7 separate regions of the Homo sapiens genome follow, and regions 2, 3, 4, 5, 6 and 7 are each linked to region 1. Evidence: promoter capture Hi-C in 16 types of primary human blood cells and fetal thymus (Javierre and others, 2016). All regions are on one chromosome and are shown on one strand. Each heading gives the region's core, a stretch centred on a gene start or on the middle of the fragment in contact. The rest is flanking DNA. Distances are from core to core; before and after follow the strand shown. Region 1 holds the start of ANKRD49 (ankyrin repeat domain 49). Region 2 overlaps MED17 (mediator complex subunit 17). Region 3 overlaps VSTM5 (V-set and transmembrane domain containing 5). Region 4 overlaps VSTM5 (V-set and transmembrane domain containing 5). Region 5 has its middle 29 kb from the start of VSTM5. Region 6 overlaps ENDOD1 (endonuclease domain containing 1). Region 7 has its middle 81 kb from the start of HEPHL1.

What was found. Contacts are between HindIII fragments. The CHiCAGO score rates a contact against its expected background, and 5 or more counts as called.
Region 2: a contact is called between a fragment that was not itself captured here and the fragment with the promoter of ANKRD49 in region 1, in 13 of 17 cell types (activated CD4 T cells, naive CD4 T cells, total CD4 T cells and 10 more). The highest score is 9.1, in activated CD4 T cells.
Region 3: a fragment that was not itself captured here is called in contact with the fragment with the promoter of ANKRD49 in region 1 in 14 of 17 cell types (M1 macrophages, naive CD4 T cells, M0 macrophages and 11 more); the score reaches 12.8 in M1 macrophages.
Region 4: a fragment that was not itself captured here is called in contact with the fragment with the promoter of ANKRD49 in region 1 in 2 of 17 cell types (erythroblasts and endothelial precursors); the score reaches 7.4 in erythroblasts.
Region 5: a contact is called between a fragment that was not itself captured here and the fragment with the promoter of ANKRD49 in region 1, in 1 of 17 cell types (endothelial precursors). The highest score is 5.0, in endothelial precursors.
Region 6: a fragment that was not itself captured here is called in contact with the fragment with the promoter of ANKRD49 in region 1 in 1 of 17 cell types (total CD8 T cells); the score reaches 5.3 in total CD8 T cells.
Region 7: a fragment that was not itself captured here is called in contact with the fragment with the promoter of ANKRD49 in region 1 in 1 of 17 cell types (endothelial precursors); the score reaches 5.7 in endothelial precursors.

Annotation. Positions count from the first base shown.
Region 1 is chr11:94,492,734-94,496,534 of GRCh38, forward strand. ANKRD49 (ankyrin repeat domain 49) reads left to right here and starts at 1,251. Exons shown (of 3, transcript NM_017704.3): 1 at 1,251-1,302. It overlaps MRE11 (MRE11 double strand break repair nuclease), which reads right to left and starts at 1,111. Exons shown (of 20, transcript NM_005591.4): 1 at 1,058-1,111; 2 at 49-173. The coding sequence starts at 68. RefSeq lists an enhancer at 1,461-1,550. The HindIII fragment of the contact is 5,313 bases long and covers 1-3,123 here.
Region 2 is chr11:93,798,501-93,802,301 of GRCh38, forward strand. It overlaps MED17 (mediator complex subunit 17), which reads left to right. Exons shown (of 12, transcript NM_004268.5): 9 at 3,335-3,472. Among named protein-coding and RNA genes, the nearest start is that of MED17, 16 kb to the left of the region's middle. The HindIII fragment of the contact is 2,427 bases long and covers 611-3,037 here.
Region 3 is chr11:93,815,302-93,819,102 of GRCh38, forward strand. VSTM5 (V-set and transmembrane domain containing 5) reads right to left here. Exons shown (of 4, transcript NM_001144871.2): 4 at 2,931-3,801. Among named protein-coding and RNA genes, the nearest start is that of MED17, 33 kb to the left of the region's middle. The HindIII fragment of the contact is 2,949 bases long and covers 215-3,163 here.
Region 4 is chr11:93,845,532-93,849,332 of GRCh38, forward strand. The region is part of intron 1 of VSTM5 (V-set and transmembrane domain containing 5); the gene reads right to left. Among named protein-coding and RNA genes, the nearest start is that of VSTM5, 3.2 kb to the right of the region's middle. The HindIII fragment of the contact is 1,626 bases long and covers 1,048-2,673 here.
Region 5 is chr11:93,877,988-93,881,788 of GRCh38, forward strand. It overlaps the pseudogene LOC101060084. Among named protein-coding and RNA genes, the nearest start is that of VSTM5, 29 kb to the left of the region's middle. The HindIII fragment of the contact is 8,409 bases long and covers 1-3,801 here.
Region 6 is chr11:95,090,518-95,094,318 of GRCh38, forward strand. All of the region lies in intron 1 of ENDOD1 (endonuclease domain containing 1), which reads left to right. Among named protein-coding and RNA genes, the nearest start is that of ENDOD1, 2.6 kb to the left of the region's middle. RefSeq lists an enhancer at 2,408-2,702 and a silencer at 2,408-2,702. The HindIII fragment of the contact is 2,956 bases long and covers 277-3,232 here.
Region 7 is chr11:93,938,226-93,942,026 of GRCh38, forward strand. It overlaps the pseudogene LOC101060084. Among named protein-coding and RNA genes, the nearest start is that of HEPHL1, 81 kb to the right of the region's middle. The HindIII fragment of the contact is 2,285 bases long and covers 1,028-3,312 here.

The sequences.
Region 1 (3,801 bases), core at 1-2,500:
GCTTTAGAAACCCCAAATAACAAGGGATTCCAGAAGTCAGGTGCTTACAGTGCATCTGCAGTACTCATTTTTATGGTCAGTCAAGCTCCTCTGGGACCAGGTTCTTCTCCAAGAACCCCTGGGTACTGTACTCAAATGTCAGAAAATGCACTCGATTCCAAATTCTAGAAATTCTAAAAACAAAATTACATCATAAAACACATTTTTTAAAAGCCTGCACGTATTTAACCAACATGATTTACGCTGCACAAGGTACAGACGTCTTAATTAGACTGGCAAATTTAGAAGTCTCATTTTCATCTAAGCACCCACTATACTTTTTTTTAATGAACTGAGCATAGAAAATAATATATCTCCAGTGTACATCCTGTTTCCTAGTTTCACCAAGATGATTAAACTCCTATTTTCCTTTCCCGTGCTCTTATGGGAAATTAATGTATGCTAAATAAATGGGCAGAAAGGGTCACATACGGTTCTGGTTCAACACACAAACAACTCTAGATGTGCAGATATTTTTAAGTTGCACGCATAGGTTACTCTGGAGAACAGAGGCAATCCTGTATTTCCTATTCAAACCCCACGATTTTTTTTAAAGGACCTGGCTAGTTTGGAAAAGGGAACGGGCCCGCGTTTAAAGCGAGTGTAAATAAACAAACACGTGGTCTGCGGAGGAACACCTTTAAGCACCAGCAGGATGACTGAAAATAGCCAGGTTTGGGGAAGAGTGGCTGCCACCGCGAGACAACCCCCACCACATCTGGAGCTCCAGATTCCGTCGGGATTCCAAGCCTCAACACGCCCTCACCGCAGGGAACCTCGGAATCAGAACGCTGAGCCCGCCAGGACCCCTCCCCTGCCCACTCGGCCCGCTCTTCCCGAGGTTCCAGTTAACTCTGGGCTTCCGCCTGGGAACCTGCAGAAACAGGAGACGAATGCGATTCCTAAATTACCCCACTGCTGGACTCTTCGAAGCCCCACAATCGCGACCCAAGGCTGTCTTCTTTTCGGGAAGAAAGGGCAGGATCCGTGAAAAGAAAACAACACGGTCTGAACTTGCCTCTGAGAACCCGCAGGGCCGTAAACCTGAATTCCGCGGGAGAGAACGGCGTCCGTTTCTCTCGCGACACTTCATGGATAACGTAGATGCTTCAAGTCCAGTTCGGCTCTCATTGGCTACCGCACGCAGTGAGGGGGCGGGGAAAGTAGCGGCGAGGCCCCGCCCTCACGCAGGAGCCAATCCTGAGCAGGCTAGGAGACGAACCCGGAAGTGAGATGCAAGGCGGCGATTTTCCCTTCTGTCAGGTGGGTTGTTATTCCCTGTCCCGGACCTCGCTTTTTGATGGACCGGCGCCATCTAAGAACTCCTGAGCCCGTGGGGGTGGGTAGCCTGTGGACACAGGCCGAGCCCTGCAGGTCAGGCCGCTTCGTGGTCCCCAGGTAGGACCGAAGCCGCTTCTCCGCTCTTGGCTGTTTGGAAGGCCGCAGGCGGAGCTCACGGGCCTGTGAGCTCCCGGCTGGTGGCAGAGTGCCGGAGCTGGATCCCCTCTCCCTCCCTCCCAGTCGCCAGACCCTCTACAGGTGTCGCCCCTAGGTCCTTGAGTTCAGCACATCTGCACTGCTTTGTGCTGAGAGCAGTAAGATGTATAGTGCAGCGAAAAATAATGTAGAACTTTTGAATTAGAACGTCTGCCCTTTCAGTTCCATTGAAGGGTCCTTGATCTAGGGCAAGTTGTTTTAATCTATCTGAACCTCCTTCACCAGTAAGGTTTATAGCCCCGCCTATCACTGAGTTGTTTGTAAGGAGTTGACATAGTTCGGATCTCTCTCAAAATAGGATATGCCCTTTAAGTTAGGAAACATACCCTGACATTCCTGATGGAATATCAGGAATATCATCATCAAGTCATCAGTTTTGTTTCTTAACTGTAAGTCGGGTAGATGCGCCTAGGCTTGGCTTTTTAAACTAAATATACCAGTAAAATTTTGTACATAATTTTTTGTATCTGGATCTGTAAACTCAAAATTTATATAAAGGGAGTTTTTATTGAAAGGAAAAGCATGTTGGGGGAGAGGGTAAGATCTGTGGTATAAGGTTACTATATTTGATATAATTACAAGTGAACTTTTATTTATTAGCATCTGTTAAGTGTTTAATGAATTGATGTATGGTCATTTTTGTGTTGCAAGGTTCAGGAATTAGTTTGAGAATCAAAGAAAAAGTGGAAGCTCCAGGAGAATTAATAAAACACAGAGCAATTCTGATTGGATATCTCTGATTCCAAGGGTGTCTCTGATTGGGTGACTGAAAAGCCGGATTGGCCTTAGGAATACTTTAGTAAAATTCTTACATTTTACAATAAAGTAACAGGACCAGAAAAGTTACTGGACATGAGTAATACATTTAAACTTGAGTTTAGTGCTATTGCCACTAGTAATAAAGTTTAATACCACATTAAGATTGTATACTGTTAAACTTGTGAGATTAGGTATCAAGAAATCAGTATCTTGGGGTTATGCCTAACTCTGGAACTTCTCAGAATCCATTCCAGGCAAAATCAAGTGACAAGACTTTAATTAAATGTAATGCTACACATACTTCTTAATGCCTTCTATAGACAAGTAGGAGATAAATATAAGTTAAATGTGGTCCTTATCTTTCAGCTTATAATCTTTTAAGGGGCTAAAACAAGAACAAAGTTAGAGGTGAAATGTAGCACCAAAAAAAGTAGAAAGCAGAAAGCGATCTAAATGAGAGGATCAAGAAAGAATGAAAGAGATAACATCAGAGAAGAGCCTTGAAAGACTGATTATATTTCAACAAATAGAGTTGAGAGGCTGGGAATTCGTATTTGTAAATTATCTATTGGTTATTCTCCTTTTCTTTAATTGATTAAGGTTTATATGTTGTGTAACCCTTTAAGCTGATATTGGTTTAAAAATTAATATGGCAGCTTAGCAGAATAAACATCAGTTCCTTCAGGAAGCCTTCTTTAATCCCTTAGGACTAGGGGAATTATGAACCTCCTGTATACTCATGGTTTCTAGACAAGGTCTTGTAGTAGTACTTATCATGTTGTCTTTGCCAGACACATGATGTCTTTGCCAGTCACCTACACTAGAGTAAGCTTCCTGAGGTGAAGACATGGATCTTGCTCATTATTGAATCCCAGTACCCAGAAGTTGGCACATACCAGACATTCTATTCATATTAGTTGAATGAAGGAATGAATGACAGCCAAAATTCAGTTGAAAACAAGGACCCAACTAAGAACTATAGTTGCCTATCAATAAACAGGACTACTTTTTAAAGCAGTGAATTTTCCTAGGCCTGAAATTATCAAAGTAGAAATAGGATAATTAGTGTAGATGCTGTGATAAAGATATATGTACCGATGACAGATTGGAACAGATGTCCTTTTGGGGGCTATTCCATCTTCAAGAATCCCTGATTCTTCGAAATAGTATTTTTAGGAATTAGAAGTTTTTATTTCTGCTCTATATTATCTGTGTGTCTAGTTTATAAAAATCTTGAATGCACCTGTCTTCATTGTATTAGTTATACTTCAAAACCTTTAAGCATTCATCACTGTTAGCATAACACCATCATACCTAAACCAGTAGATTAAAAATAATAGTTATAATAATATAATTGACTTAGAAGAAAACAACAAAAGTAAGAAGCATTAGACCACTATTAGATCATAGTTTGTTGTTTTCTGTCAGCATCAGTATTTAGTGTATGTAAGGGATATCATGAGAAAAACAAGAGTTTAGACAGGGTTTAATTGTATATGTTTGCAA
Region 2 (3,801 bases), core at 574-3,073, 690 kb before region 1:
AGTTTTTTTTAGTACATTAGTTTGTAGTCTTAAAGTGGAAATTTAGGTCCTTCAGCTTTTAGTAAAAGGAATTGGGGAGACACGTTAGAGAAGACAGCATGAGGCAGTGAAAGGAGTAGGGGACTAGGGGTGAAAGGTGTGTAAGCCAAGGCTCAACCACTTGCTAAATAACTTCGAGCAAGGGATTTAGTGTCTATGGTCCCCCACTTATTCCCGTCAATAGCAGGTATAGGAGTGGGGTCTTAGGGTCATATTAAATGATGTATGTAGAAGTTTCTTATAAGTAATAAAGCATTATATGATAGGTTACTGTTTCTTACCATTAATACAGTTCAACTTAAAAAGCTGATAATTTGAGTAGATCGTTAGTCTTGCAAATTTCTGATTGACCATAAATTTAAATATTCCCCAAATAAATGATCAGCATAAAAACAGCTATTTTTATAACCATTATAAATTTCAGAGTAGTAAGTGTAGCCTTGGAAGCAGCAAAGCTTTAAAACTTTTACTTCTTCCTGGTGTACAAAAAGCTTAGTGAAGAAAAAAAGACCCTGTCTGGGCATGGTGGCTCACCCCTGTAGTCCCTACACTTTAGGAGGCCAAGATGGGAAGCTTGCTTGAGCCCAGGAGTTTGAGACCAGCCTGGGCAACATAGTGAGACCTTGTCTCTACAAGAAATTTTTTTTTTTTTTTTTTTTTGAGACGAAGTCTCACTGTGTCACCCAGGCTGGAGTGCAGTGGTGCAGCTCACTGCAAGCTCTGCCTCTCGGGTTCAAGCGATCATCCCGCCTCAGCCTCCCAAGTATTTGGGATTACAAGTGTGCGCCACCATGCCTGGCTCATTTTTGTATTTTTAGTAGAGTTGGGGTTTCACCATGTTGGCCAGGCTGGTCCCGAACTCCTGACCTCAAGTGATCCACCCACCTTGGCCTCCCAAAGTGCTGGGATTACAGGCGTGGGCCACCGTGCCTGGCCAGGAAGCCTTTTTAAAAAAAGTAGCTGGGCTTGGTGTGGTGGCTCATGCCTGTAAACTCAGCACTCAGGGAGGCTGGGCAGATCCCTCAAGTCCAGGAGTTTGAGACCTGCCTGGGCAACATGGCCCATCTCTACAAAAAAATAAAAAAAATTAGCCAGATGTGGTGGTGTGCACCTGTAGTCCCAGCTACTTGGGAGGCTGAGGCTGGAGGATTGCATGAGCCTGGGATGTTGAGGCTGCAGTGAGCTGTGATCACACCCCGCTACACTCCAGTTGGGATGACAGAGTGAAACCATGTCTTAAAAAAGACAAAAAGACTGATGTGTATGATAACATGCACAGTGAGATCTCTTGACATGCTAATATATTTTTATGTGTATGTGTCAGAGTGTGTGTGTGTGTCTTTAAAGAAAAATCGGAGTTTATAAAATTTTATATCCTTCTGAGTTCATACCTCAGGGGTGACACCAAAACAAACAAATTTTTTACCTTGCATTCATTTAATATTGTATTGTAAATTTTTTCATCTATTTTAATAGCTGTATAATATCCTATAATGTAAATACTTCATGATTTCTTTTCCCAATTTTCCATTGCTAGATAATTTTATTTCCAGTTTAATGGTTCTCGTAATGCTCACACACATACTTACCTTCTATAGGAATTATGAAGCACTGTCAGGGAAACACATCAAGGAAAAAGGAAAATAAATTTCAGAATGTATTGTAAGAAGCCGGTACTGCAGCAGCAGACCAAACCCTAAGTCTATTAATGTAAAAGCCCCTTGTCCCCACTGGCTCTTCTCATTTCTTCCCATTGTCTTTTAAAATTAAATTTATTTTTATTATTATTTTTTTAATTTTGAGGTGAGGCGTGGCATGGTGGCTCATGCCTGTAATCCTAGCACTTTGAGAGGCCAAGGAGGGCAGATCACTTGAGGTCAGGAGTTCTACACCAGCCTGGCCAACATGGCGAAACCTCGTTTCTACTAAAAATAGAAAAATTAGCCAGGCGTGGTGGCACACGCCTGTAGTCCCAGCTACTCGGGAGGCTGAGGCAGGAGAATCACTTGAACCTGGAAGGTGGAGGTTGCAGTGAGCTGAGATTGCACCACTGCACTCCATCCTGGGTGATAGAGTGAGACTTTGTCTCAAAAAAAAAAAAAAAAAAAATTTGAGACAGCATCTTACTCTGGCTTAGACTGGAGTGCAGTGCAGTGGTGGAGTCATAGCTCACTGTAACCTGGAACTGCTGGGTTCAAGTGATCTTCCTGCCTTAGTCTTTTGAGTAGCAGGGACTACTCGTGCACGCCACTGTGCCCAGCTTATTTTTTTTTTATTTATAGAGACTGGTTGTCGATATGTTGCTCAGGTTTGTTTTGAACTCCTGGTATCAAGCGATCGTCCCTCCTTGTCCTCCCAAAGTGTTTTGATTACAGGTGTGAGCCACTTCCAGGCCTTTCTTTCTCTTTCCAGTAAAGTGCTAAAAATCAGATAATTAGAAACTGAGGGTTTGGTTAATTTAAATGATTTATGCTTTGGTTCTAAGTGTTGGCTGTTGATTAGTGTGTATAAGATTACTGGCTTTGGAATTGGATTCCCAGGTTTTTGGCTCTGGATTTAGACTCCCAGGTTTTGTATCCCAGTTTATAGCTATGTGACCTTGGGCAAATTGCTTAACATTGCTAAAGTTTTTTCTGTTTAAAAAATGGAAATAATAGTGCCTACCTAATAAGGTTAAGATTAAATGATATGTTAGTAAGATTAAATGATATAATTCATGAAAGCTCTTGTTATAATGCATGCTGTATAATGAACACTTGATAAATCTTATTTCTCATTGGTATTGATAGTTTTCTTTTTTTGGAGTATAAGGATTTGATTGTGCAAAAAATCTCTAGCTTCTCTTGAATATGATTATAATTTCATTACAGTAATGGGTCTAGATGTGGGTGTGTCCCAAGTCATTTGTTACCAGGGATCAAGTACTGACATTTATGAATGATTTATATTAGGTTTATACCGTAGAATATCGAATATCCTTCTCACTCATTTCCTGATAAGCTTTTCTGAGTGGAAGAAAATGAATAGAGTTAAAGGGAATAAACCCATCATGAATCATGATAATCAGGGGTGTGTGATGAGAGTGTATTGTAATGTCAAGCTGAGAACCTACACATTCAAGCAGTATGAAAGGGTTCTTAGAGCTACCTCTGCCTTTATTTAAAGTCTGCCTACACATAGTGGTAGTTTAAAAAAGTAGTTAGTTTTAAAATTTTCATAAAATTTTCGAATCATTTATATTCCTATCATTTTGTATGGTGACTTAAAAAGTTTTTTAACTTCTTGTATTTAAAAGAGCTGCTGCAACCATTGACAGCTTAGCAAGCCGAATTGAGGATCCTCAGATACAGGCTCATTGGTCAAATATCAATGATGTTTATGAATCTAGTGTGAAAGTTTTAATCACATCACAAGGCTATGAACAAATATGCAAGTAAGTGGCCAAAATAAAAGTTTTGTATTTAATATGTTAATTTGCTATTGATGTTTGCTGAGTAATTATATTAAGCATTTGGTTTTTATTTGCTAGGGTGGCATAATATTTCTGTAAATTATATAAGCTGTAGAGTGTTTTTTTTTTTAATAGGTGGAGTCTCACTCTTTTACCCAGGTTGGAGTGCAGTGATGATCATATCTGACTACAGCCTTGAGCTCCGGGGTTCAAGGAATTCTTTTGCCTCAACCTCCTGAGTAGCTGGGACTATAGGCATGTGCCCCCATGCCCAGCTAATTAAAAAAATTTTTTTTAAGAAACATGTCTAT
Region 3 (3,801 bases), core at 439-2,938, 680 kb before region 1:
AGAAACTAAAGATAACATCTTAAAATATGTCCCTGAGTTGTTTTCAGAATCTCAGATCCCCACCAAGTGGATTTGCTGGCATGTAGACCTCAGATAAGCAAGGACAACTTGGGCTGCCGTTCTTTGTTCTGAATTTTTTCCCGAGGGGCCTGGAGGAGGTCATGCCTGTGAGCTGGAGCTAACATTCTTTTCTGTTGACCCAAATTTTAGACAAAGCTTCTCCTTAGCCAATTGCAAATCAGAAAATCTTTGAATCCACCTATGACCTGTTGGCCCCTACTTCAAGATGTCCCACCTTTTACATCAAACCAATATATAGCCTCCGTGTATTGATTTATGACTTTGCCTGTAACCTCTGCCTCTCCACCTTTGTGGGTTTTTTGGGGTTTTCTTGTTTTTGTTTTTTGAGACAGGGTCTTGCTCTGTTACCCAAGCTAGAGTGCAGTAGTGCAATCAGCTGCTCATTGCATCCTCAACCTCCTGGGTTCAAGTAATCCTCCTGCCTCAGCCTCTTGAGTAGCTGGGACTACAAGTATACACCAACACATCTGTCTGATTTTTAAAAATGTTTTATAGAGTCAGGGTCTCACTATGTTGGCCAGACTCATCTCAAACCAGCTCAAGGGATACTCTCACCTTGGCCTCCCAAAGTGCTAGGATTACAGGTGTGAACCATTGTACCCAGGCTTGCCTCCCCACCTTTAAAACCTTTACCTGTAAGCCATTGAGGAGTTGGAGTTCTTGCTTGGTGCCCTACAATAAATGCCTCACTTCCTCTTGCTGCAGTCCCAACGTCAGTGCTTGGCTTTGCTGTGCCAGATGAGCAGACCCCAGTTTGGTTTGATAATGTGTACTTTATAAAACCAAATCTAACACTAAAACTTCAGATTTATTTTACATTATCAATACCCTTTCTTCCACCAATACTCAATCTCTGATAAATTTTATGTAAAACCCACCAAAATCGTGGAACATGGAATTCCCTAAAAGACTAAGAGATTCACAGGAGGTAGAGTTGAATGCATTACTTAACAGGAGGAAACCATCTTGGTTGAAGGAACTAGCCTGATACATAGAAAGTTTGCCTAAGATGATTTTTGTATATATCATTTGAAATAAAAAGTAATTTTTCAGTGAACAATTACAGTGTATTCAAAAAAAAAAACCCAGCCGGCGCAGTGGCTCATGCCCATAATCCCAGCACTTTGGGAGGCTGAGGTAGGCCGATAACCTGAGGTCAGGAGTTCGAGACTGGCCTGACCAACATGGTGAAACTCTGTCTTTACTAAAATACAAAAATTAGCCAGGCATGGTGGTGCACACCTGTAATCCCAGCTACTTGGGAGGCTGAGGTAGGAGAATCGCTTGAACCTGGGAGGCGGAGGTTGCAGTGAGCTGAGATGGCACCACTGCACTCCAGCCTGAGTGACAAGAGCAAAATTCTTTAAAAAAAAAAAAAAAAATAGTGTATTCATACTATAGACTGCATTGTGCAGGCAAGAAGAATGAAGTTTTGGAATAGGTAGACATGAAATAATTCCCGACACATTAAGGAAAGACTGGTGAGTTGTAGGGTAATATATATGATAGAATCCCATTTGACTAGAAAGAAAATAGGATAAATATGTATATTTGGCATATATATACACAGATATGTTCATATATGCATAAGCAAGTCTAGAAGGATACACACCAAATTCGACTATTGTTTCCTCTGGATTGAGGGAAGGAGAGAGATCTTTTACTTTATTTAGTTTTTGTTAATTAACTCTAGCCAAAGATACTTTAATATATATAGACTTTAGTGCTATCTGAATTTTAAAGAAGGATTTATCACCTCTGTAATTAAGCCAAACCAAAAATACCCACTTAATTTTTAAAGGGCAGTGGAAATGTTCTCAAGAATTGGAAAAGCTGACAGCCAGGTTGGGTGGATTCAGGGGTGCAGAGAGATGCAAGCTCTGGCAACTCACACCATTAGTGGATATTGAGTTGGGGATAGATGTGCTAACAGTGATCACAAGGATTTGCTCTGCTTTTAGTAAACTATGGATGTGTCTGATGCTTCCCTGGAAACTGGGCAGAAGAAACCTATGCTGGATATGTAAAAGCTGATGCCGGTGAGATGGTTTCCACTTCCCCCAGTATCCTCCCCAGTGTTGTCAAGGAGGCAGCACGTGAATCACGTCCCTGGGGATTCACCCTGTCATATTTGGCTCCTTGTTCCTGGTTACATCTCCAGCATTCTGTTCTGCCATCTCTTCTCAATCCCTTGTTAACACTTACCCAGCTCTTCAGAATTGTAGGGTTTGTCTCTGCATTCTTGCCTGGGGCAAGATATCCTGATAACCTCTCTCACTGCCTTAGCTTCTCACCTTTGTGAGGTATTGCTTCAAATCAGAGTATGCATGAAGTGCTCTCAGGTATTTACCATCTTATGTGGCCTTCAGAGGACATGAGCTCTCCTTGCATACACGGAACACCATGAAATGAGAAAGTACAGTATATACCTTTTGGGGTTCTAAGATCATAACCTCTGAAAGGACATTCTGTTGACAAAGCATGTGTGTTCTGTAGGGTATCTTATCCACTGCTGAACAAGTGGTACAATTATCACATCCTACTTTTGGCCCATTCCAGAAGCAGGAAGAATGCTATTGAATTACAGTTAATATTCTGAAAGCATAAATTTCAAATTGGTCTTCTGGCTACAATTGGGGGAGAATGGTGGTGCTGATAAGGTGTAGTTTTTCTGAATTGCTAAATAATGTTTACTGTTAGAACCAGTGTAATTAGTTGCGTTGTCACTTAAAATATGTGCCAGACCTGACTGTGATTAAGGGTTTTGTTTATGCTCAGCCTGACAGGACACAGCACCCAGAGCCTCTGATTTCTTGGCAGGAGCAGACACACACACAAAGGACCAGGGCTTTATTTTCAGGTTTTATTTCATTCATTCTTTAAAACTTTTTTTTTTCACAGTTTGAAATATAATTTATAGCTTAACATTTACACTAGCTAATCTCTAAGATTTTTATTTTTCTGAAAAGCAAAAACCTCAGGCTCTGCATTTTAAACCTTTCCACAGGAATGTTCAGTATGGCAGAGCTTTAAAAATTCAAAAGAAACCCTTTTTTCAAAGAAATGGAAAGCCAAGGAAAGAAGCTTTTTTTAAAAAAAACATTGTAACTTCCCACACTACTGATGTGAATAAACTGTCATGAGATTTGGGCGGGGGGGCAATTTAATTGACATCTGCCATGGAGGCCTCTTAGTGGGTGTTCTTTTCCAACTCCCCTTTGATTATGAAGATTGCCAGCCCTGACTTCGGGACAAGCGGAAGAGCAGAGTTCTGAAAGGCAGGTAGTGTGGAAGAGGACATGCTGGCCCCAGCAGCTACCCAACTCCCACTGCTTTCCTGCTGGTGGCCTCTCTGTGTGAAAGACAAGAAAGAAATCAGCAGATTATCCTTGAGCCCCTTGGATACTGCTCACCTCGTTTCTTCACAGCACTGGAAACTGTCCTGGCCCAGAGCCTGGTTCCTCCGACTGCTGCGTGGGGATAGGACATAGTGTGTGAGTTTACCCGTGTGTCTACAGGAGGCGCCTTGAGGGTATCTTCTACCTGTCAGGTGCTAGAGCTACACATCCGTTGTGTAGACCAACTGCTGTCGCCTTTTGAATCAAGCAGTGCCTTGGGAGTCCTGCTCTGGATACTGAGAGTTCCTGTCTGAATATTCTGAGAGATCCCTTCCCAAAACTCTGGATTCAATATTGAGGGAAAGGGCTGTAACTTATCCAA
Region 4 (3,801 bases), core at 611-3,110, 650 kb before region 1:
TAGGAGGGGCGAGTCGTTTCCAACTTGAAACTTGTCAATCCCCATCCCTCCCACTCTCATTCCTGCTGGATAAGTAATTACTTTCCAACTCCAAGCCCATTTTCCAGGGAAAATCCAGGTGCAGAGAAGCCAGCGTCTTGGGTGCACAGTGGGGCTCCAGCATCAGTGGGGTCTCTGAGTGGGGCAGTGGCTAAGTTCCCATGGGTGCATGCTAGGGCAACTTCCACTCCCTCTTCCCTTGCCAGGTCCCCAGAGGTATTGTGCACCTATTTTTTGAGCACCTGCTGTATGCCTCCAATTCTCTTCTCCACCCTGTCCTGCTGTACACACTTACTCATCTTTCAAGAGTCAACCTCACCTGCTCCATGAAGTGTTTTCTGACTCGCCAGGCAGGATGCCTCCCATGACTGGCAGAAGCAACACACATTCTCTTTGGAATAACTCAACTTCAATCCAGGCTGACAAAAATTGTATTAAAGCCTTTTTGTGGGTTTGTTTTAGAGACAGGGTCTCACTGTGTTGCCCAGGCTGGTCTCAAACTCCTGAGCTCAAGTGATCAAGTGATCCTCCCACCTCGGCCTCCCGCGTAGCTGGGACTGCAGGTGTGTGCCACTGTGCCCAGCTTCAAAGCTATTGATTTATAACATGAATTCTGACTTTAGATATAGTAAGTTTTTTTTTGTTTTTTCCCAAAGAGTCTTACATCAGATAAGGGATATAGCTGTCCTTAGGTCCTGGGGATAATGGAGAGGAGAGTCTCCTGGCCCTTGCCCCGCTCCTAGACCAGCAGGGAGCATACTCAGGAAGGCTCTTGGAGATCAGGAAGTAAGACATTTGTGTGACTTTCCAGTTGACTCCAGCCCGCACCCCCAACAGCTTCAATTTTGTCTTTCAGGCATTTTCTGAGATGGGGAGGAAGTGTGTGTGCAGGGGTGCCCATCAGCCAGGGAGCTGGCACCTCTTCCATACGATGTGCGCATCACTAGCACTGCACACATCACCCTGTATGAGGAGTTTCTCTCCCCTGAGTGAGGGCTAAAAGCTGAAAGCTTAATTGTCCATCAGTGGGGTCTGGCTAAGTAAAAAGCAGCATATTTATATGATGACATATGTAGAGAAGTTGAAAGGAATGCACTTCCTTTATCAACATGGATAGAGCTAAAAAAAATTGGTGTAAAACTAAGTTGCTGAATAAACAGTACAGAATGAATGCATTTTTAAAAAATTTTTTTTAATTTTTTTTTTTTTTTTTTTGAGATGGAGTCTCACTCTGTCACCAGGCTGGAGGGCAGTGGCATGATCTCGGCTCACTGCAACCTCTGCCTCCCGGGTTCAAGCGATTCTCCTGCCTCAGCCTCCCAAGTAGCTGAGACTACAGGCGCCTGCCACCACGCCCGGCTAATTTTTGTATTTTTAGTAGAGACGGGGTTTCACTGTGTTGGCCAGGATGGTCTCGATCTCTTGACCTTGTGATCCGCCCGGCTCGGCCTCCCAAAGTGCTGGGATTACAGGCATGAGCCACCATACCTGGCCCCATGATTGCATTTTTTAAAAGTACATTGGAAACTCACTTTTTTTCCAGTGGGTACATTTGTATGTATGCAAAAATATTTTTTATAAATCTGAAAGGACAGTGCAGAGTGAGACCACACCTCATGTGTCTCTGTTTGATCAGGGATCAGTGCACGGCCCACGGCAACATAGTAGGTGCTTCTAAGATGTTTGCCACATGGATGGCAGCGTTGGGCAGCTGCTGAGGACTTATGGAGTGATGGACCCAGAGTCTCGTGAAGGGCCTTGAGAGGATTCCTTCTATACTGGCTCCCTCCTCATCCCATCCGCCCCCACCTTCCACTAAGCCCAGAACCCACAGCTCCATTCTGGCTGTGGCATCCCTGGGTCTGTCCACTCCCTCCTCAGCTTCAGATTCAGCCCTAGCCCTGTTCCTCTATTTTTCTGAGGACTGGCCCCAGTGTGTATATGTGTGTGTGTTGGGGGAGCTGACTGTTACTTAGAAACTGGGATTGGAAAAAAGCAAGTTGATTCTGGCCCAGGCCATTAACTAAACTATCCTACTATAGTCTTGGATCAAGTACTTCCGAATGAGAGGGAGCACTGGGTGGGTACTCGTGAGCCTGATGGCTAATGTACTGGGAAAGGACATGAACAAATGTTCTAGAAAGGTGCCTGGTCTGGTGGGGAGGCCTGCCAGCTTTCCGAGCCCATAAGTCCTTGTCCTAGTCAGCTTGGGCTGCTGTAACAGATGACCATAGACTGATGTGGCTTAAACCACAGTTATTTCTCACAGTTCTGGAGAGGCTGGGAAGCTCAAGATCAAGGTGCCAGTTTTTGGTGAGGGCCTTCTTCCTGGCTTGCTAATATGCATTTTCTTGCTGTGTCCTCACACAGCTGGGAGGGAGAGCTCTGGTCTCTCTTCCTCTTCTTATAAGGACACTAATCCCATTATGGGATCCCACCTCAAGACCTCATCTAAACCAAATCACCTCCCTAAATCCCCTCCTCCAAATACCATCACATTGGAGGTTAGGGCTTGAATATATGAATCTTGGGAGGACCCATACATTTGTAGGGGAAAGGTTTCAAAAGCAGGGTGTTTGGCATGCTTTAACTCAGACTTCAGGGTAAATAGTGAATATCAGAGGTTCTGGATGAAGCTTTTGACACAGGCAGAAGAGGTAGAGCATGCAGGGAACTGGTAGGAAGGAGGAGGCCTACTCTTCATCATTATGACTGGCTCCAAAGCACAGGCTTCATTCAGGCAGGCACACATTCATTTAACGTCTTTTAAGGGCGCAGGCCCTGGCTAGCACTGGGCAAGTGCTAGGGACCCTGAGTTGAAACAGAGTGCTTGCCCTCCTGGAGCTTACTGCTGTCCATGAGACAGGTCTCAATGGAAAACTGCAAACTTTTACCTGGCCTCCAGGTTTTGCATGTGCCATTTTGTCTGGTACACCCTGCATTCCCTTTGTCCTGTCCCCCGAGCTGCTCCTACCCATCTGGCAGGTATGGGCAGGTGGGGCTGTTTTGGGGAAGTTTCCTCAAGTCTGGATTCTGAGACGCTAGGGCTTCTAGAACATGGCACCTCTTGCCTCTCAAGGCTTGCCATTGCAAGGCTGCCCCTCTTGTTTGCATGTCTGTCTTCTCCATGACACCTGAGCTTCCTGAGAACGAAACAGTGAACCACCATATCCTAGGTACCCACTGTGGCCTGCTTCCTGCAGGGAGAGGGTACAGTCAATGAGTGAGTGAATGAATGAATTATACGCTATTGCAAATGGCTGGTCCCTGAGCATGAGGGGTATCTGAACAGATGTGTAAGTATGGTGATTAGAAACAAGTGATAAAGGTTTGAGAAATAATATAAAAAGCCACTGCAATGACAAACACACCCATCCACCTGCTCGAGACTAACAACCAACTGTTTTCTTGATCCATAGCTGCCAGAGGAACATGCCTCTGTCTTACTGGGTTTCTGAGATTTGCAACCTCTGCAGCTGGGTTCTAGCCAGAGAGGTGTAAAGGTCAAAAATGTTAGATCGTTCAGTCACCTTGTATAAGTTAACATAATATTATTTTTTCTCTCTCTCTCTTCTTTTCTTTTTCTTTCGCTTTGGAGAAGGTCTCATTCTGTTCCCCAGGCTAGAGTGCAGTGGCACAATCAGGGCTCACTGAAGCCTCAATCTCCTGGGCTTAAGTGATCCTTTCACCTCAGCTCCCCCGCCGCCCACCCCAGTAGCTGGGCCTACAGGCACAGGCCACCACACCCAGCTAATTTTTTCA
Region 5 (3,801 bases), core at 569-3,068, 610 kb before region 1:
CTCACAAAATGTTGGCCTTGTTATATAAATAAAATCCCTTTAGTAGTCAAAATCAAAATAATAAATCTTTCCTCTTTTTTTTTCTTTTTTTGGCCATTTTTCTTCCCCACCACACCACCTTTTTTGGTATGTGTTGGGGGAAATTTAACCATTTCAGAGGACTCGTTCCCCATAATTTGCAACTTTCCTTTGGACTTGAGTGAGTCAGATAGTGTTGGTAAAACCCAATGGGAAAAAGATTAAAAGAACCACAAAATCAGAAACATACAACAACAACAAAACTGTTAAGGAAAACAAACAATCACAAAACTTATATGATTACTGAGTACTCTTATGGTAAGGAGAAATTAAAACCAGCTGGTTGTTAACTTTAGCCAAGACAAAACCCCAATTCAGCTACTTACTTAGGGATGGGTCTCAGGCTGAAGACTGCTCTCCACCATCCTAGAAGCAGGAAAAAAAACCTATCTTCCCTTTTGGAAGCCAGCTCAAACTGCATAAAGGAGTTACCTGCCTTCCCTCATCATTGAAGCAGGAAAACTTGCCTTCCTTGTTGGAAGCAAATAAAACTCCCAAAAAAGGGAGTTGTATAGCAAAACAAACTTTAGATCTTGACCAAATTTTGGGAGATCAGGTCCTTTCTGGAGGGGGTGCTCCCAGACCTCAGCAAATTGTGCTATTGGTTTGACCATAAAGTTAGCTCATGCTGGTACTAAGCACTGATAAGAGATTTGTCAAAAGTCAGGGGCATCTCCACTCAGAATCCCTCTGTGGTTACTGGAATGTGAGCCCTGAAAATCTGAGACAGGTCTCAGTTTATTTTTCCAAGGTTGAGGATGCACACCTGTGACACAGCCTCAAGAGGTCCTGATGACATGTGTCCAAGGTGGTCAGAGCACAGCTTGGTTTTATACATTTTAGGGAGACATGAGACATCAATCAACATATGTGAAATGAACGTAGGTTCAGTCCAGAAAAGATGGAACAGCTTGAAGCAAAAGCAGGACAACTCAAAGTGGGAGGGGCTTCCAGGTCATAGGTATTACAGGTGTGATACAAATGACACAAATGGCTACATTCTTTTGAGTTTCTGATTAGCCTCTCCAAAGGAGGCAGTAAGATACACATTTATCTCAGTGAGCAGAAGGGTGACTTTGAATAGAATGGGAGGCAGGTTTGCCCTAAGCAGTTCCCAGCTTGACTTTTCCCTTTAGTGATTTGGGGGCCTGAAGATTTATTTTTCTTTCACAGAACATTTCCATCAACCCCAAAAGTTTACTCTGTGCAGTCTATTCTTTCCTCTGCCCTCAGCCCTAGGCAACCACTGAATTGTTTTATGTTAAGAGATTCATTTGCATTTTCTGGAATGTTATTGTCAGGCCTCTGAGCCCAAGCTAAGCCATCATATCCCCTGTGATCTGCACATATACATCCAGATGGCCTGAAGCAACTGAAAATCCACAAAAGAAGTGAAAATAGCCTTAACTGATGACATTCCATGATTGTGATTTGTTCCTGCCCCACCCTAACTGATACGATATATTCTCCCCCACGCTTAAGAAGGTACTTTGTAGTATTCTTCCTTGCCCTTAAGAAGGTACTTTGTAATATTCCCCCCCACACTCAAGAAGGTACTTTGTAATATTCTCCCCACGCTTGAGAATGTCCTTTGTATGCCTATCCCAAACCTATAAGAACTAATGATTATCCCACCACCCTTTGCTGACTCCTTTTTCGGACGCAGCCCACCTGCACCCAGGTGAAATAAACAGCCTTGTTGCTCACACAAAGCCTGTTGGTTGTCTCTTCACATGGATGCACGTGACAGTATATACATAGAATCACACAGCATTTAGTTTTTGTGTCTGGTTTTCTCCTGCCATCATGATTTTGAGATTCATCCACTATGTTGTGTGTATCAATATTGTATTCCTTGCTATTCCATTTTATGGATATAGTAGAGTCAGTGTATTCATTCATCTTTAATGAACATTTGTGTTAATTTTAGTTTTTGCTTATTGACATCAGTCTGTTTTATCATCTTCACTGCATTATTACTATCTGAAATTACTTTATTCATCTATTTGTTTATTTACTATCTGAAATTACTTTATTCATCTATTTGTTTATATTTGACTTTCTTTTTTTCCCCAACTAAGCCAACAGGATCTCATTTTCTTGTTCTTCACTTTATCTGCAGTGCCTGTGCATGATAGGAGCTCATGTGTGAACTAATTCCGGGAATTTCATTCCTGGGCTATACTTGAAGCATTCCTGAATTCATATACTAGCTATGGCATTATCGGCTTTGTGACCCTGAGCAAATTGCTTCACCTCGCTGAACTATGGTTACTTAATCTTTAAATTGAGTATTATCATACTAATCTCACCAGGTTGTTGTGAAGATAAAGGTGAATTTCTGACACTAGAAAGCCAATGCTGTCCTATCTGCCTTACCTGTAATGACTCATTTAGTCCTTTAATCAGTTAATCAACCCCATGAATAAAGTACTGTGATTTATTTTTCTTTCTTTCTTTTTTTTTTTTTTTTGAGACTGAGTCACGCTCTGTTGCCCAGGCTGGAGTGCAGTGGCATGATCTTGGCTCACTGCAACCTCTGTCTCCTGGGCCATGCAATTCTCCTGCCTCAGTCTCCTGAGTAGTTGAGATTACAGACATGGGCCACTGCACCCAGCTAGTTTTTGTATTTTTAATAGAGATGGGGTTTCACCATATTGCCAGGCTGGTCTTGAACTCCTGACCACAAGTGGTCCACCTGCCTCTGCCTCCCAAAATGCTGGGATTACACGCATGAGCCACCACACCTGGCCTTTTAATTTTTTAAGACAGGATTTCACTGTGTTGCCCCAGCTGGAGTGCAGTGGCATGACCTCAGCCCGCTGCAACCTCTGCCTGCTGGACTCGAGATTCTTGCGCCTCAGCCTCCCAGGTAGCTGGGATTACAGGCACATCCCACCACACCTGGCTAATTTTTGTATTTTCAGTTGAGATAGGGTTTTGCCATGTTGGCCAGGCTGGTCTCGAACTCCTAGTCTTAAGTGATCTGCCCACGTCAGCCTCCCAAAGTGCTGGGATTATAGGCATGAGCCACTGTGCCTGGCCAAAAAAGTGCCATTATTTTCATTCTATCTATTTTATAAATTGCAAAGCTGAGGCACAGAGTTAGTAAGTGGCAGAGCTTCACTTGAGCCCAGGCTGTTTAGCTTATAAAACTCTTCTCCCCATCATTCTGTTATTCTGCTTCTCTATGCTATTAAATGAGATAGTATATGAAGTGCGTAGCACAGTATCCAACACATGCTACCTTCACAATAAATATTGTTTTTTTTCTTAGGTACAAAGTCATAGAGTGAGATGCCAAACATCTCACCATTTACCTACACTTTTGGGATCATATATGAAAGGTTGTAGCAAGTAAAATTCAGTAGAATTTTGTAGATTGTGTGATATAGTATTATTTTCATCATCTTGACATTTTAATTTCTTGGGTTTGAGACATGATTATAAGCATGGGGAAGTGTGGTATGTTTGTCAAATAAATCAGTTTGACTTTATTTTTTTTGGTAAATTGGTTGTGAACAGTTGTTCATACTCATGTCCCAGAAAGGGTCTCCCAAGCCCATTATTGGGTCTGGCCTGAGAGTGAGGTCTAATCCTGAGAGTGGTCAGCCTAGCTTTGCAATTCACCAAGAACCACAGGGGACCAGTAAATATCAAAGGTATCAGTGTGGGACAGGTACCAGCCCTAAGGGATGGATCAGCTATTTTTGAAATCCCCAT
Region 6 (3,801 bases), core at 505-3,004, 600 kb after region 1:
GACATCCGCAGTGTTTCATTCCTGAATGGTGAAGAGCTTGATACAGAGACCCTGGAGACCGTTCAGATCCGCAGAAAGCCTAGGCTGGGCGCTCACAGGCCTTCGTGCAACTTATTGCCATAGCACTCATTTGGAGGTGGGTAGGTGGGCATTTTCATCCCCATTTTACAGAAGAGGAGATAAACCCAGGGGGTGAAGAGACATATGGAAGACTACCCAGTTAGTAAGATGGGGCAGGTCTCTGTCTAGAAATTCACTGCCTTTTCTACTAAGTAAAGCTTCTCTTCTGCAGAGCTCATCCTAGCCTGAAAATCCTTCCTCTACCACGGCGTTGAGTAAATTCGATCTGCGGTTGTGTTGAATTAGAACAATGAAATAAAGATACAGATTTTTAGAAACGCAATGGGGTAGTTAAAAATGATAGGGAAACATTGACTACCTCCAACTGATGGAAAGATAAGCCAGTTTTTCCTGACTCCTCATATCTATATTATCATACCACTAGGAAATCGTGTCACCTCTCATGGTGTTCTGTCCCGTCTGGTAAAGGTGACCAAACACTTGAGAAGCCCTCAGAGTCTTCCGAACCTGCTGGCCTGCTCTTAATACCTCTCCTCAGTTGGCCTCCTCTCTAGAACACCCTGCCAGACTCCCCTTTGCCCTCTCACCAGCCTCCCACCCCTGCCCAGGCTGCTGGGGGAAGAACTGACCCAACGCTCTCCCTTTCCTGACGGCCACAGCTGCCCAGGACCACACCAGTGGACAGGAGGCTGGCTTTCAGGTGCTTTATTCAGAGCCTGTGGGTTGTAATCTCATTCAGATATTTCTAGCTCTGAGGTCTTGGCCAGGTCTCAAACAATCTGCACCTAGTTTTCTTATCTTCCTCACATCCTTCCACCTACCTCAACTGTTGATAACACTTGTCGAGATCAGGCATGTGAAAAAGACGTTGTCAGTTGCACACACAAGACACATTTAAATCCAAAATTAGTTTTCCACCAGCTGCACCCCTAGAGCTCACAGGGTGTTCCCCACCTCTCATCTTGCATTGTGATTGTGTGCCTGCGAAGAAAACAAATGAGCTAGTTCTTTCCCCTTGATCTCATGGACAGCTTGGGGAGACAGAACATACGTCTGAGGAAATCATGGGAATGGATGCTAAACAAATTTCAGTTAAATTCAGAACACATTTAGTGACTCCTGCTGTGTGCCAGATATTTGGGACCAAGAGATCTGAGTGCAGTTCTGGAACAAAGGCTACCTGATCTGCAGGTGGAGTTTGCTGGGTGGAGAGGTGGTGTAGTATCTGATTAGAGCCATGCTATGTGGGTTCATATCCTAGTTGCTCCACTGACTAGCTATGAACTTGGGCAGGTTAAATTGGAGATAATAGCATAGGGTGGTGTGAAGATTTAATGAGTTACCATATATAAAGTTCTCAGGTGTGTGACACATGAGTACTAAGTACTAGCTGTTGCTATGACCTAAGCAAAAAACCATAATTTAATAAAGGTGAACAAAGTCCTATTAGATTTAATCTGTCTTTGAGGTGATGGAAGCAAGCCTTAGGGTCAGGATGACATTTCTGCTGTGTGTGGAAAGATAAGGCAGAGTTTAGAAGGGAGGCAAGGAGGAGGACATTTCAAGCAGAGGGAACAAACATCATGAGTGAGAAAGGCATGGCAGATTCAGGGATTTGTGCGTGAAGAAGTTGGAACAGGTAAACTAATACAAATAGATGAATGCACTCAATTGCTCAGAATAAAAAGGAATCATGGAAGGGAGGGATCAGGTGGGGAGGAGCCACCAAGGAAGGCTTAGGGAGGCAGAGCCATTTATGCAGCTAGGGAAGGAGTGAGTCGTAAAGGAGCATAGTTTGACAGAAAGAAGTACAGGGAACCAGGTAACATGGAGACCCTGGGTGAGATAATGAGGAAGGGGACTGTGGAGATTAAAGAAGATGGGAAGGGAGGGTGGAAATAGTTACAAATGGCAGCTTGAGAGGTAAGATGTACAGCGGTTCTGAAGAGTACAAGGGGCCTGAGTTCCTGCTGTGCTGAGAGGTCAGAATGGTCACTGTGGCTGAGCACTGCAGGATGCTTTTCCCTGCAAGGTGGCTGGCCTCCCACATCCACCCGCTCGACCTCAAGTCAAGTCAGCCAGGATCCAGAGAGTATTGGGAGAGAGGGAGGGAGGAGGAGGTGTGAGGTGCAGCTGGGCCTGGAGTGCACTGCAGCAAACCTGCCCCCACTGTTGCCTGCTCCCTGAGGCCCTGCCTCCCAGCCAAGATCCCCACTGCAGAAAGATGCTCAGGGCTCAATGTGTACCCTTGGCGGCTTCCAAGCATTTTATAATGCTGAGTCTCCTTGTACCCACATCACCTTTTTATGAGGTCAGTGTTACCAAGAGGACCCGCACACAGGGGAGGAAGAGGCAGGAGACCAAAGGAACTCAGTGCTTGCCTCCAGTGATGAGTCAGGCAGGGCAGCAGTGACACTGAATTCCCAAAGCCCAGTTCGGCAGCTTTTGAGTCCACACTGCAGTTTCCCTTTGAAAAGAATCTCCTAAGTCAAAGATCACAGAAACTTAGTCACTCTTGTGCTGAAAATCTGTAAAGTGTTGCCTGCCCAGCCCCTACAGGACAAAGTTCACACTGCAGAATGCAGTTTACAGGCTCTCCATAGCCTAGCTCCTGTCTCCAGCTCCAATCTAGTTTCTCACCATGCTCCACCCTCATATTTTATGTTCTAGCATTATCCAGCTGCCTGGAGTTCCTCTCATAAACCAGACTGTTTGTGATGTCTGTTTCTTAGCTCATGCTGATTCCCTTTGCCCAAATTCCCTTTCTACACAGACCCCATCTTATCCTTCACTTCCTGCCCTTACTCCATCCTTTAAGACTCTGCTGAGGTGTCACCTCCTCCAGAAAGAATTCCCCACCTGAACTGTATCCACCTCCCAAGTTAGGTTCACCCCTTCAGTGCTCTTATAGTTTTTCTATTTTCATACTTACCATGTTGTTTTGTAATTATCTGCTTATGTATCTGTCTCCCCAACTTGAGCCCTTGAGGAATGATGATTGCATCTTACTCATTCTTTTCCTAGTGCCCAGCTTATAGAAAGCACGCGATAAGTGTTGAATAAAATAATTTGATGTTGGGAGGATCAATCAGGCAGGAGCAGGTGAGATGTTCTGCTTCAGTTTTCTCAGTGGGGCGCTTCCTGTTTCAGAAGCTTGCACCAGGGCTGGCCAGCAGCAACTGTTACAAACATGCTCCCTATGCAGAGCTGGAACCCTGCTCTGCAGCCACTCCATCAGTCTTAGCTTTGGCCTTTGAAACTATCCCAAATGATTTTGATCTCTGCTCTGCCTACAGGAGATGGTTTGGAGGAGTTCTAGTCAAGACTCCAGAAACCTGAGAACTGGATTCTGGTTTAGTGCAGGAAGCCTCAAACCTTTTAGTTTGTTGACTCCTTTCCACTTAATGGAAGAATTTTTAGATAAGATGCCAATGATACCTTTCTAAAGTGCATTGCTGATTTATGCCAGAAGCCAACATATAAAGCTCTATCATTTTATAAACATGGAAGGAACTGAATATATAAATTATATAATTAATATATTATACATATTAATTATATAATATATAATTTATATATTCAGTAACAATAGTGTATATTTGTTCAATCTTAAAAAATACTGTGAGGTAGATATTATCTTCATTGTAGAAAGGAGGAAACTGGCTAAGGGAGGTTAACTGAGGTGTTTTAGGGTCACACAGCTTATTTTTGAACTCATTA
Region 7 (3,801 bases), core at 920-3,419, 550 kb before region 1:
GAATTTTCTTTGATTTTGAGAATCATTTGTATTGTCAAATGCCTCAGACATTAGGATGTATAGTATTTGTTCTTTCCTTATCACTTTCAACCTCCTTTTTAATGGCTACTTTTGTTTCCATTGTAAGGATGCTCTTCTTAATTGTTGTAGTAGCATTTTGGGAGGTCAAGGCAGAGGATCACAGGAGCCCAGGAGTTCGAGACCAGCCTGGGCAACATAGTCAGACCTCATCTCTGCTAAAAATTTAAAAAATTAGCTGGTCATCATGGTGCATTTCTGTAGTCCCAGTTAGTAGGTGGCTGAGGCAGGAGGAGCGCTTGAGTCTGGGAGGTCAAGGCTACAGTGAGCCATGGTTGTGCCACTGGACTCCAGCCTGGGTGACAGAGCAAGACCCTGTCTCCAGGAAAAAAAAATTAGTTATGGTAAATCCTTACAACCATCCTAGCGTAGGGAATGTGCCCTTACAATATGGTGGAGGGCAAAAGGATGCTCATACCATGTTTGGGTCAAGGGCACTTTGGCACCAGGGTTCAGCTTAGCTTTGTGTGAGTGTTCATCCATTGAAATTCACAGGTAGAAGGGCTTCTCTACTCCCAGGTCTGCCTGTGTTACCCCACTGTCCCAGTCACTGGCCCCCTTAGGGTGGCTCTCAGAGGCCCTGCCAGCTCCTGCTTCCTCCCTTTGCCCCTGCTGTTCCTTCTGCCTGGACAACCTCTCTTTCCCACGTATCCAGTTCAAGTCCCTGTTGTCCAAAGCCCTTCCCTTACTGCTCCAACCACATCACGGTACCCTCGAATTCCTTTCTCTGTACTGGTCTTTCTCTCTTCATCTAAGTGACCAGCAGTGAAATTCCACAGAAGAAACCTTTGACTTGGAGTCAAAAGTTCAGATTTGAGCCTTGTATCTGCCTCATATCAGACAGCCATCTCTGAGCCTCAATTTCCTCCTCAGTAAATTCTGACAACTATTTGCACTTGGAAGACATGACAAGGCCGTTTCAGGGTCAGGTATGATCATGTAGGAAATAAGCTTTGGAGATGATTCAGCGTATGCAAAGATCCCAGACATAATCATTATAGGATTTTTTATGCTTCATCTAGAACAGCGTGGCCCTTACTAAGAACATATAAATCCCAGTGATGCTGGTGGCAAGTGACAGAGTACATTTTAACTACAGTTGCAAAATGAAATCCTGCTCAGAACTGGCTTTGTTCCCTTTTGGGATTTCCACATTTGGGAAAGGGTGATCAAAGAGAGGAAGAGAAAAAGAAGGAAGCTGACGTTTTACAGAGCTGTGCATTCAGTTTGTGTAAGCTACTTTGGATAATCACATTTCCTGATTGCCTTTGTGGGTTTGGAACATTCAGTCATTTGTTCTTACGTTTAGTCATCCACTGAACATTTATTGAGAGTTTATTATGCCCTGGGCACTGTGGATACAGAGATGAATAAGGAGATGAATAAGGCACATGCCTGCAACCCAGCCAGGTTGAGGGAGCTGGCATGTGACCAACAAGATGGATGCAGCAATTAAGATATGTCTAGGGAACAGAAGGGGCACCTAGCTCAAACCAGGGACCAGCAATTATTCTCAGGGCATTGTTTGCATGGAAGGTAAGACGGCATACACTGGGCATATGACTGCATGTAGTAGGGTAAGAAAACATCCAATACAAAGGAATCCATTAGATGACATGGCTGTATTCCTGAACTCATGTTCTCAGCCACTCTACAGCCAAATATTAGCCTGTCAGGGGTCTGATGGCGTGGTGCGTTTCCATGACGTAATTTCTTTAGACCACTCTCAGCATACTGCCTTGGAGGAAGGGGCCAAATCAGTGTCCCTCACATAAAGGGCCCTGTGTTTCTCCACTGTGTTTTGCTCACTCTAGCCATCTGTGGGTAGGGCCACTGCTCAGACAGTGATACTCAGACACAGGAAGACTTGGTTGAGTCTCTCTCTATTTTTGAATGATTTCAGGTTTCCTAGACTTCTGCTTGAGTAGACTGGGAAACTCAAAGCCTTAGTCAAGGAAACCAATTTTTTTTCTTTTTCTTTTTTAATTAGCTTTTTATTTTAGAATTACAAAAATGTTGCAAAGATAGCACAGGGAGTTTCCATATACCCCTCACCCAGTTTTCCCTTACTGTGAGCATCAGACATTACCACTTGTCACAACTAAGAAATCAGCGTTGGAATATTTCTATTACCTGAATTCCACATTTTATTCACATTTCACCAGTTTTCCCACTAATGTTCTTTCCTGTTCCAGGATCCCATCCAGGATATCACATTATGCTTAATTGTCATGTCTCCTTAGGTTCCTTTAGGCTATGACAGTTTCCCAGCTTGTCCTTGTTTTTGATGACCTTGACAGTTTTGAGGAGTGCTGGTCAGATGTTTTGTAGAATGTCCCTCCATTGGGTTTGTCTGATGTTTTTCTCATAGCTAGACTGGGGTCATGGGTTTTGGGAGGAAGACCACAGAGGTGAAGCTAACATAGTTGTATTCCATTCACATCATTTCAGTGGTACATGCTATCAACATGGCATTGCTACGGATGTTAATCTTTATCACCTGGCCTAGGTGGACCTTTCTAGTTTTTGTCACTGTAAAATGACTTTCCTCCCACTTTCTATACTCTCATTCTTTAGAAGTGAGTCATTAGGTGCACTCCATACTCAAAGGGATGGGGGAATTAAATTCTATTTCCTAGGAATCTACATAAATTATTTGGAATTCTTCTGTGAGGAAGATTAGCCTTCCCATTTATTATTTATGTAATTATGTACTTATATCAGTATGCAGTTATAAATATTTATTTTATATTTATTTACACATAACATTGCTTTATCTGTTTTGTTGCTCAAATGGTTTCTGCTTTGGCCATGGGGAGATACTTTAGGTTGACCTCTGTTTCCTTTTGGCATGCCCCCACCCTTTTGGTTTTTGAGCACTTCCTTACTTTCAGACACAAGATGCTTCAAGCTCATCTTGTATTCTTCATCCCCATCTACAAAGATCTGTTTTTCACTCCCATGACATTTCTGACACCAACTGTGTGTTTTTTTCTTCCCTACTCTAACCAGTTCTCTAACACTAGCAAAGGTGCCCCACAATTCAGTTCGGTTCTGACACTATCTACTTGGAGTTAGAGTCAGATTCTGAAGTTCAAGGCTCAGTCCACAAGGCTTCCTCCACTTCAAACACCAATTGCAAGTCCAGGCCTCCTGTACTTCTGACTAACCTGCTATAAATTGGGGGTTCCCACCACTCTGTCCTCTGAGCCACCTTCACGGCTTGTCTCATTAAGCTTCTGAGGGCCTCCTGAGGAATCCAGCTGAATAGTGTTCAGCTTTTTGGTTATTATTTGCCACTTAGCAGTTTTTAAGATCAGAGATATGATCTAGTGCCACCACAGGAGATTTGCTTTGGGAAAGAGTCTATGAGATGTAGCTGTGGCTGGTGAAAAAGCACTGGCCAAGTCTAGAACTATATAAAAAGGGTTATGTACCATAACCAAATGGAACTTATCCCTGGACAGACCTCCGGGAAAACAGTTTACTCACTATTGTCAGTTTATTATAAAGGCTACAACTCAGGAAGAGCAGCATAGATGCAGAAGGCAAGGCATGAAGATGGGGGTGCGAGGCTTCCATGCACTCCCCAAGCTGCACCTTGATGTGTTCACCAGCCCAGGAGCTCTCTGAACCCAGTTGAAAAAACTGTTTTTTTTCAACCCAGGTTTTTTCTGCAGTCTCTATTTTGTAGGCATGATCTATTACATCATTGGTCACTGG